4 separate regions of the Homo sapiens genome follow, and regions 2, 3 and 4 are each linked to region 1. Evidence: promoter capture Hi-C in human tissues and cell types (Jung and others, 2019). All regions are on one chromosome and are shown on one strand. Each heading gives the region's core, a stretch centred on a gene start or on the middle of the fragment in contact. The rest is flanking DNA. Distances are from core to core; before and after follow the strand shown.

Region 1 (2,643 bases), core at 82-2,581:
CATGCTCACACACTCATATTCACATGCACACACAACTACATACACTCACACTCACATATTCATATTTACATACACAGCCAGGTGCTCACACATGTTCATGTTCAGCACATGCACACATATTCAGATGCACACACATGCTCACTCACACACACACCCCTGCCCTGCCAGCCCTCGCGCTGTGAAGGGGAAGCTCCCCAGGCTGGCCCCAGCTCCGGAGGAGGGAGCTGGGGGGAACGGAGGGGGCCCTGTGGACCCTCCAGCCTGCTGGGATCCCCTTCTCTCTCCCCGGACTCTGAAGCCTCTGTACACATTTGGAACCCCTGCCCCCGCGGCATCAGGAGGTGTGGGGTGAACAGCTCTGACAGTGCCTGACAGGGACGGGGACAAGGGGCTGCCAGGCCCAAACCCCGGGGAGCGTGATCAAGAAACAACCCCTGGTGACTTGGATGAGGCCCCCCAACTACACACCTCTAGGCTTCCCTCCCCCACTGTCGCCCCACAGCCCCCTCCTCCGGCTGTGAGGGGCCCCGAACTGGGCTCCCTCCCTCCTGTAGCCCTTGGGCTGTCAGTTTTGGGGGAAGACGGAGGGTGATGGGGAGGGAGCGGAGAGACACCCTGGGGCAGAGCGGGATGCAAGAGAGGGGTCCTGGAAGGGGGTCTGGCGGGGCAACACGAGCAGGGCGGGGTTAAGGGGGTGTCGGAGGGACGAGGTCGCGGAGGGAGGAGGGCCGGCGCGGTGGCCGGTTACCTTCGCAGATGCGCCAGAGCCCCGAGTGCGAGGAGAGCAGCTCTGCGCGCCCGGGCCAGGCGCTGCCATTGCCGGCGTCCGCCACCTCCAGGATGTACCAGTAGTCGCTGGCGACCGCGGCGGCCAGGAGCGCGAAGCTGAGCAGTGCACCCAGGGCGGCGGCCAGGAGCAGCGCGCCCAGCCGGGCCATGGGGGCGGCCGGCGGGAGGGGACGGGTCGGGGGTAGCAGGGCCCCGGGGGCGGCGGGGGGCGCGCGGAGCCGGGAGCCGGGGGACGGGGGGCGGGCGGGCGCGGCGGCGCCCGGCTCTTCTGAGCACGTCCCCGCTCCTGCCCGCGCACTGGCCTCGCGGGCCCCCTGGGGTCGCAGGGAGATCGACCCCACCTCTCTGCGGTCGCTGAGCTCGCCCCTGGGGGAAAGGAGAGGAAGTCGAGAGCCGCGCGGCGAACCTGGGGCTTGGGCTCCAATCCCAGCGTCCCCACGGGCTGGCCCCGGGTCCCTGGGCACGTTCCTTAATTTCCCTGAACCCCCGGCTCCTCAGCAGCCAAACAAGATGCACCTGCCTGGCCGGGCTGTGCAGGGCTTGAGAGGAGGAGGGAGGATCGGCCAGAGACCGACCCCAGGAGGATGGCCGGCCAGGCAGCAGGACCACCCACCCGTGCTCCTGGAAGCATAGGAGCCTGGCACGGGCTGGCCCTGGGGTCCTGGTCTGTATCAGTCCTGAGGACCAACCAGACGGCATCCGGTGAAGTGCAGTGGCTGGGCCCCACAGCCGGGCGGGGGGCTGCGGAAGGAAAAAACCTTGTTTTGGATTCACTCATAATTACAAATGCCCCCTCCAGCAAGGCCGGCCTCTGCCTGTCCAGTCACTCACGGAGAAAACAGGCAGAAAGAACCTTCTAGGACAGGCGTGGGGTGCCAGTGGGGGTGGGAGGCAGAGGAGCCGGCGAGAGGCCCCCACCCATCCACCCAGGACTAGCCCCATGAGCAACGCCCGCGTGGGCAGCCACACAGGCGGAAGGGACAGGCTGGGCAGCCATCGCCTAAGGTCTGGGGTTAAATCTCAAACGAAGGGGAGGCTTCCTCTGGGTTGCCACACAGGGCTGGGCAGAGCCTGCAGAGAGGGGATCAGAGGTCTGAGGACATCCTCCCGGATGGTGGCCCTTGGAGGTGAAGCCAAGGCTCTCTTCTTGGGGCGTTTTGGCCATGCTTTCCTCTGCTAGGCTCTTGTTGGTTTGAGGAATATAGTCAGGAAGGAAAAACCAGCCTAGCAGTTATTGAAACAATATTTCAAACAGAGTTCAGACAGAGTGACAGAATGGCTCAGGTATTTTGTAGCCGTCCTCACACCTGCAGCACCAGACTGTGTTGCCGCACGTGGGCAGCTCTGGGGTTTTCCAGCCCCCTTGGAGCTGGGGCTTCCCTGACCACAGCCCCTCTCTGGGAGCCATGTGGCATCCAGCAGCCCTGTTCTCTAGGGGTGGGGATAGCACATTAGATCTGGAAGGTGAAAGAACTCAACAGGTGCTCAGAGAGTAGCAGCCGTTATAAAGGCAGAGGCGATAGGGATAGGGGGTGGGGCCTCGTTCCCCCCCTAAACACACTGCAGCTGGGGAAAGAACGGTGCGTGATGAAAACTCGTGGTACTCTGACACTGACCCCACAATAAAGCAATATAACAAGAATCAATATTGCTTCGGTTGGATCAACACCTTTGTGCATGTGAAAGGTACGAACTGACTCTGCAGGGAGAACAGAGGAGCCCCATTTGGGCTGCGTGCTCCATGTGTGTCCTCCCGGTGACTTCCCCTTCTCTCTCTCACTCTATTTATTTTTTTAGAGACAAGGTCTCCCTATGTTGCCCAGGCTGGACTCAAACTCCAGGGTTCAAGTGATC
Region 2 (2,643 bases), core at 63-2,562, 210 kb after region 1:
TACTGTGCATGTCAAAACCCATAGATATATAACACAAAGAGTGAACCCTAATGTAAACTGTGGCATTTAGTTAATAATAATGTATTGGCCGGGCGCGGTGACTCATGCCTGTAATCCCAGCACTTCGGGAGGCTGCGGTGGGTGGATCACCTGTCAGGAGTTTGAGATCACACTGGCTAACATGGTGAAACCCCGTCTCTATTAAAAATACAAAAATTAGCTGGGCGTCATGGCGCACACCTGTAATCCCAGCTACTCGGGAGGCTGAGGCAGGAGAGTTGCTTGAACCTGGAGGCAGAGGCTGCAGTGAGCTGAGATCGCACCATTGCACTCCAGCCTGGGCAACAGAGCAAGACTCTGTCCTAAAAAAAAAAAAGTATCAATACTAGAACATCAGTTGTATCAAATGTTCCACACAAATATGGGAAACTAGTGGTGGTGAGGAGAGGGAATACATGGGAACTTTATACTTTCAGCTCGATTGTTTTGTAAACTTAAAACTGCTCTAAATAGGCCAGGCGCGGTGGCTCACGCCTGTAATCCCAGCACTTTGGGAGGCCAAAGTGGGCAGATCACAAGGTCAGGAGATTGAGACCATCCTGGCTAACATGGTGAAACCCCGTCTCTACTAAAATACAAAAAATTAGCCGGGCGTGGTGGCAGGTACCTGTAGTCCCAGCTACTTGGGGGACTGAGGCAGGAGAATGGCGTGAACCTGGGAGGCGAAGCTTGCAGTGAGCCAAGATCGGGCCACTGCACTCCAGCCTGGGAGACAGAGAGAGACTCCATCTCCAAAAAAACAAACAAACAAACAAAAAAACCAAAAAAAACTGCTCTAAATAATACAGCCTATTAATAAAAAATGGAAATACAACCCACAACAGAGAAGAAAACTTGCTGTCTCTTTCACAATAGCAAACTTTCCAAATAAAACTGAGAGCACAATACATAGACACTTGTCTGGTAAACTTAGAACCACTCAATGTGTTTTAAAATTACAATTAGCATACTAACAATTATTTTTTCACACACTTTAATGTATCTGCCTCAAAAGGTTTTTTTGTTTTTGCTTTTTTTTGAGACGGTGTTTTTTTTGCTCTTGATGCTCAGGCTGGAGTGCAATGGCACAATCTCTGCCTCCTGGGTTCAAGTGATTCTCCTGCCTCAGCCTCCCAAGTAGCTGGGATTACAGGTGCCCGCCACCATGCCTGGCTAATTTTTGTATTTTTAGTAGAGATGGGGTTTCACCATGTCGGCCAGGCTGGTCTTGAACTTCTGACCATAGGTGATCCACCCACCCTGGCCTTTCAAAGTGCTGGGATTACAGGCATGAGCCACAGTGCCCGGCCAGGCTTTTTTGTTTGTTTTTTGAGACAGGGTCTCACTTCCGTTGCCCAAGCTGAAGTGTAGTGGCATGATCACAGCTCACTGTAGCCTTGGCTTTCCGGGCTCAGGTGATCCTCCCACCTCAGCCTCCCAAGTGGCTAGGACGACAGATGTGTATCACCATGCCCAGCTAATTTTTTGTATCTTTAGTAGAGATGGGTTTTTGACATGTTTCCCAGGCTGGTCTTGAACCCCTGGACTCAAGCAGTCTATCCACCTCAGCCTCTCAAGTGCTGGGATTACAGGCATGAGCCACTGTGCCCAGCTCAAAAGTTTTATTCTAGACTCAACAAGTGCTTCTTGGGAAGCTAGGAATATTGGTTCTTTTACTACAAAATTCAAAAGCAGTAGCAGCAGAAGAGGAGGAGGAGGAGGAGCAGGAGAAGGAAGGAATAAAAAAAGAGAACTATTAGCAAGCTACAGAAATTTTTGTGATGAAAAACCCAGTTTCTCTTTTGTAAATAACTGACACTGGATGGCTAGCTACTATAAAAGTCAAAGTACAGTCATCCTTCAGTATCCAAGAGGGACTGGTTCCAGAAACCCCCTTGGATGCCAAAATCCACAGATGCTCAAGTCCCTGTTATAAAACAGGTTATTATTTGCGTATAACCTACGCATATCCTCCCGCATACGTTATGTTGTTAATTTTTAATTTTTTTTTTAGAGACGGAGTCTCACTGTGTTGCCCAGGGTGGGCTGGACTTGAATTCCTGAGCTTAAGTGTTCCTCCCACCTCAGCCTCCCAAATAGCTGGGACAATAGGTGCATACCACCATGCCCAGCTCTCCTATATATTTAAATAATCTCTAGATTACTTATAATACCTAATGTAATTTACATGCTATATAAATAGCTGTTATACTGTATTGTTTATGGAATAATAAGAAAAAAAGGTCTGCACATGTACAGTACATGCACTGCATCAGTACAGATGCAACTGTCCATTTATATTTCAAATATTTTTGATTGACAGTTAGTTAAATCCATGGATGCAGAAGCCACAGATAAGGAGTGCCAACTACACTTGTACTTCTACTTGTCATTTTGCCTTTTAAAAGACTCGAAATGAAGAAAATGCACCAGAACTCAAAACCTGATGGAAACAATTAGGCAAGGACTCAGAAGCAAAGAATTTGAGCTGACAGGAACCTTAGAAATCATCCAGTCCCACCCTCATCTGCACAGACTCAGGCAACCGAGATGATATGGCTGAGATGACTGACCCAGCTACCACTGGGACTAGAACTCACATCT
Region 3 (2,643 bases), core at 67-2,566, 190 kb before region 1:
TCCCAGGACGGCAATCTTACTTGAGCCCAGGAGTTTAAGACCAGCCTGGGCAACGTGGCAAAACCATCTCTATCAATCAAAAATACAAAAAATTAGCTGGGAATGTTGTATGTGCCTGTGGTCCCAGCTACTCAGGAGGCTGAGGCAGGAGGGTCGCTTGAGCCCATGAGGTCAAGTACGCAGCGAGGCATGATCATGCCACTCACTCCAGCCTGGGTGACAGAGTGAGACCCTGTCTCAAAAGGGGGAAAAAAGGCAAACACACCCATTAGGAATATCGTTCTACGTTCAGCTTGATCATCAAGTTTTGCAAAAACATTTTTCCAAGTTTACTCACCTAAATCATGGGTTAAGAAGCATCTAGAAAGTCCAAATTCTGAGGGTAATGATTCACAACAATCTTAGCGCCCAGTAGGGCTATCGGAGGGAAAAGAAAAATCCTCCCCTCCTGGCGCCCAAGGAATCCAGCCCTTTGTGGCTGCAGAGAAGGGAAGCAGTTTCAGCCTCCCCCAGCCTGGCTGGGCCAATACCTCTGCTGGCCAGGAGGGGTCACTGCAGCCCTTCAGGTGACCAGGGGAGCTAAAGCCACCAGGGGCCACCGGGCAACTCACTTCAGTCCCTGGTAATAACCACAAAATGTGACGTTTTTCCATTTTGCCTTTAGATCCTGAAATAAGAAAGTAATCTAGTCCACACATACATATTGTGGGTAGTTGACAAAATTATCTCTAAACTTTCCAAGAAATGATTCGCACTTAAGCTGCACTCCAGCGACGGGGAACACAGGGACTGGAACACGACAGCCCCGCGCACCTAGAAAGCCGGGAGGACTGCGGCGGCCGCCGCCCGCCGCCCGCTGCTCTCTGTTGCTCCGGCTGCTTTGCAGAGTTAGGGAGGCTTGGTGTGGGGAGCTCCTCAGGGAGAACCTGCCTAGGACAGCCTCGAAGGTCATCAGCAGAGACAGAGGGAGCAGTGTGCGCTGCGGGAACGGCACTGCAGATAGATTGCTTAAGCCTGGCTGTGGCATAATGATATTTACTCTGGTCCCACAGAATCTGGAGGAATGCGAACTCTGTTTACCGAGAGCCTCTCTCCAAACAGAAACCCAGTGCCCCTGCACATTCCTTTGGCTCCTCCAGTCTAATTGTCCCACAGGACACCGTAATAACTAGTTGGAAGGCAAACAGTGTTAACTGATGTGATGTGCTGCTGTCCAGGGCACTGTGGCCAGGCCGCCGCTCCACCTATCCCCAGCCACTCAAACTGCAGGTCTGCCTGGTGCGGAAGCTGCAACTGTCCTTGTCTAAGACCAGGTGAGCCTATGCAACCTTTCAGACCCCATGAAGGGTGACAGTGACTCCTGCCAGCCCTCGGGAGGGAAAGGCGAGAAGCTGCTTCTAGAGAGGCAAAGTGCAGGGACTAAATCTAATCTCACTCCCCGAAAGGACAGGCTGCCATGCCCTGTAGCCCAGGAAGCTTCTCTCTGTGCAAGGGTCAAGCACCTGAAGATGATAAAGAGATCAGGCAGTGAGGTCACAAAAGCAGCTCCTGGAGACACTGGGGGATATGGAGAGCTGGCTTTATAAACACACATGACATGTATTCAAAATCCCCTGCTACTAGGTGACACAAAAATGTTTTAAGTAGATCCAATAAAAATAAAGTTCATTCTTCAAAAAATAAATTGCTAGGGAAAAAACAATCACAAGGTGTAGTCCTTAATTGGACTTCAAGTCAAATAATCGAAAAAATTAATTTTAAGGCAAGTGGAATTGTGAACACCATTTAGGTATTTGATGATACTAAGACATTCTTGGTAATTTTTGTTTCAGGAGTGACACTGGTGCTGTTTTGGTTAAGTACACATTTTGGGGGAAGACAGCAGGATATGCACGTTATTTAGAAATACGGACACGTGTGCACATCAGAAGAAACAAGCCAAGAGTGGCTGCCTGGGGGAAGGGAGGGCAGGAAATGGCCGCAGTATTGTTTTACTCTCTACATTTGCACACACTATTCAAATAAAATGAAAAGTAATTAAAATAACTAGGAAAAGCTGCAGATAAACTACACATTTTTAAACAATGAGACTTAGCAGAGCACTAAGGTGCCAGGCACTAAGGGAGCCCACGCTGCACACATGAGATGCCGGCACTAGCGCATGTGCCGGCCACATGGGTCCTGGCTCATCTTTGACTCCTCACCGTCCCTTCCCCACAAGCCACCATCCAAAGGCCCAGCCATCCAAAGCAACAGAACTACCCACAACATCCAGAACCAGAGAGCAGGGGCCTCGGGAGCCTGACCCCACCCGGAGTGCAGTCCAGGCCCTGAGGGATCCAGGACACAAAAGGTCACTCAGCAAAGACCCCACCTTTAATGGCAGCCACCCCCTGCCCGGACCTCTAGGCGTCAAGACAGTCCAGGGGTACCTCAGGTGACTGTGGGACCCCACTGGTGCCTCTGGTGAAGCGGCAGGCCCCTCCTGGGTGGGCAGAGCAGGTCCTGTTACTCAACTTCCAGAGTCTAGAAGGGCGCAGCTCTGTAACCGCAGCACAGGGATGTCAGCGAGGCGTCCAGGCAGCAGCCCACGGTCTGGCTCTACCGACGCCCCACCCTGTGCACTACAGCCGGCCAGGGCAG
Region 4 (2,643 bases), core at 96-2,595, 160 kb after region 1:
TCTATACACTAATGAAATTCACGTTTAATTATAAATTAAAAGTAAACATAAAACTGTATAAACCAATGAAAATTAAAAATCACACAGCATTTTCCGGCTGGGCGTAGTGACTCATGCCTGTAATCCCAGCACTTTGGGAGGCCGAGGCGGGCAGATCGCTTGAGCCCAGGTGTTCGAGACCAGCCTGGCCAACACAGTGAAGCCTCGTCTCTACCAAAAATACAAAAATTAGCCGAGCATGGTGGCTCACGCCTGTAGTCCCAGCTCTACTCGGGAGGCCGAGACAGGAGGACTGCTTGATCACACCACTGCACTGCAGCCTAGGTGCCAGAGCAAGACCCTGTCTCCAAAAAAAAAAAGCATTTTCTATTCTAGGAAAAGGCTCTCACACCCTTTTTGATAGAAATTGTGTGGGTCTTTGCTGTAGTTCAAAGCAATGATCTCTAACCCAAACTACCCAGGTAAAAGGGAGATTTAAGAGTTAGATGATGTCAATATCTCATTCCTCAAACAATCTTGGTGTCTTCTGACACACATAACAAACATGGAGAGGAAACAATGAGGGCATTTCATTTTGGGAAGCATGGTGGGTAGCAGTAAACTACGACGCCAGTTACCGGGAAGCCCATGTCTGTGAGTTGTTTGATCAGCCGGCTCATGATCCAGGCCTCATCCTGCTTGCCAGACGTCTTCATGCCCTTGAACAAAGTGTGGGAAAGGGGGAAGTCCATGAGCTACATTTTAATGCATTTCTACCAGAAATGGGAGACAGCCTAAATTCAGGGTCATTTAAAAGTCACAGGATCTTTTTGTATTAACATTGAATAATGCTGTATTCCAGAAACTCCCTAACAGTATTTCGTGGCTACTGCTACGGAAAGCATCAAGGTACATTTGCAGGTTGGTATATATGTGCAATTTATGAACTTAAAGCAAGATAATTATTTCTCTTTCCCAGATAATTAATTTAGTTTATCACAAATATAGACTACTTTTACTATCCAATAATCCTAAGCGCTCCCTTGAACACAGCCCTATGTGAAGTTTACTAAAAATTACACTTTTTGCCTTTTCTAAGCTTTATTCTGAAAAATGATAAAATGAGGGGGTTTATTCCAATGAGTAAAGAGGCAGCAAGAAGAAAGGATGAAACAACCTGTTAATTTTATTAACTATTTGTTACTTATAGCTCATAGGGTAGAGAAAAGGAATAAGGAGGAAAATGTCAGTGAAGGAGAGGATGAGGAAAAAGGTCAGCTACAGAAAGAGCAGTGGGGGTGGGGGAGGGCTCGGCACCACAGAAGAGCCAGGAGGCTTCTCAATAACTTCCCTCTGAGCCTATAAATGCAAAGGTTCTAATGATGCATTATTACAATATGAAAAAAATTCCCTTCCAAAAATATTCTTCATAGTGTTTTTCACAATTGAGCCTGCCACAGCTATATCATGGAGCATATGGAGCTCTATAAACAGGCTTTCTTTCCTCAAGGAACTAGCTTATTTTGGGGCTATTTCAATCATTACTATGCTGCCAGAGCCAGATTAGTCAAGATTTTAATTTACCAATTTGCTATTTTTGGTCCCATCATTAACTGGATTATTTGCCAGCCCAACTGTAAAAAGGATTCTTTTTGATGTCTGTAATCACTTCTACTCCTCATGAGCGGAGAGCTCTGATTTTAGTTTCTGGTTTCTGCTGATTATTAACTGAATGCTTTTATAAACTATATTTTTTTGAACATGAATACATTCACACGATTCAAAAGTATAAACAAGGTATAAAGAAAGTTTTCATCTCATGCCACCCCATTTGCTTAGTTCCTGTTCTCTCGAAGAGGCACTACTCATAGCAGTTTCTTATTTGCCCTTCCAGAGAATTTAGAACATTCTGTAGAAGCTGATACACTACGTGTGCATGCATGCATACACACACTCACATACACACACACACGTTTTCTTCCTCCTACCCCACAAAATAGGGTGTGTGCTGTACATGTTTTTCTGCACCTTGCTTTTAATTTAACAATGTACTTTAGTGATCTTTTCATATCAATACATAGATAGAATTTCCTTTTAGTTCTGTATAATGTAGAAGTGACATAATTAACTTGTTACTCCATCAATGTACACATAAATTATTGTTATCTTTTTACTACAAAAATGCTGCAATACAAAACTGTATAAATGCCACAAAGTGAGACTCTGTCTCTACAGAAAAAATAAAAAATAAAATTAGTTGGGCAGAGTGGCATGCACCTGTAGACCCAGCTACTCAGGAGGCTGAGGCAGGAGGACAATTCGAGCCCAGGAGTTCAAGGTTGTACTCCAGCCCCTAAGGTGACACAGCAAGACTCTGTCTCTAAAAAAATTTTTTTAAATAAAAAAATCAAAACGCTGGCTTTCTGTGGGTCTGAGAGATGAAAAATGGCAGGTGTCTCTGAGTGCTGTCTGGAACTGCACTGCCTTCCTGTGAGTCCGTGTCTAGGAGCCACTGGTGCTCCTTCTCTGTGGACCAGCTACTCTTCACATTCTGTGCTCCTTTTTCTACTGGGTTTCTGGCTGATTTTTTTTTTAAATCAGTTTCTAGGACTTTATGTATCAGGGGATTGGCCCTCTCTATGATATGAGTTATAAACATATTTT

Evidence for each region. The method cuts DNA at HindIII sites, captures the fragments that hold promoters and counts their contacts. A contact is called where the count stands out against the background at its distance.
Region 2: a fragment that was not itself captured here is called in contact with the fragment with the promoter of TMEM235 in region 1 in 2 of the 25 tissues and cell types used here (dorsolateral prefrontal cortex and spleen).
Region 3: a contact is called between a fragment that was not itself captured here and the fragment with the promoter of TMEM235 in region 1, in 2 of the 25 tissues and cell types used here (bladder and dorsolateral prefrontal cortex).
Region 4: a fragment that was not itself captured here is called in contact with the fragment with the promoter of TMEM235 in region 1 in 1 of the 25 tissues and cell types used here (IMR-90 fibroblasts).

What each region holds. Positions count from the first base shown.
Region 1 is chr17:78,230,319-78,232,961 of GRCh38, reverse strand. It overlaps TMEM235 (transmembrane protein 235), which reads right to left and starts at 1,331. Exons shown (of 5, transcript NM_001395503.1): 1 at 749-1,331. The coding sequence starts at 938. The HindIII fragment of the contact is 13,022 bases long and covers 1-2,643 here.
Region 2 is chr17:78,022,534-78,025,176 of GRCh38, reverse strand. All of the region lies in intron 3 of TNRC6C (trinucleotide repeat containing adaptor 6C), which reads right to left. Among named protein-coding and RNA genes, the nearest start is that of TNRC6C, 65 kb to the right of the region's middle. The HindIII fragment of the contact is 6,361 bases long and covers 1-2,643 here.
Region 3 is chr17:78,420,113-78,422,755 of GRCh38, reverse strand. The region is part of intron 9 of PGS1 (phosphatidylglycerophosphate synthase 1); the gene reads right to left. Among named protein-coding and RNA genes, the nearest start is that of PGS1, 43 kb to the right of the region's middle. RefSeq lists enhancers at 1-206, 2,480-2,643. The HindIII fragment of the contact is 3,716 bases long and covers 1-2,643 here.
Region 4 is chr17:78,069,140-78,071,782 of GRCh38, reverse strand. TNRC6C (trinucleotide repeat containing adaptor 6C) reads right to left here. Exons shown (of 23, transcript NM_001142640.2): 8 at 618-698. Among named protein-coding and RNA genes, the nearest start is that of TMC6, 58 kb to the left of the region's middle. The HindIII fragment of the contact is 3,903 bases long and covers 1-2,643 here.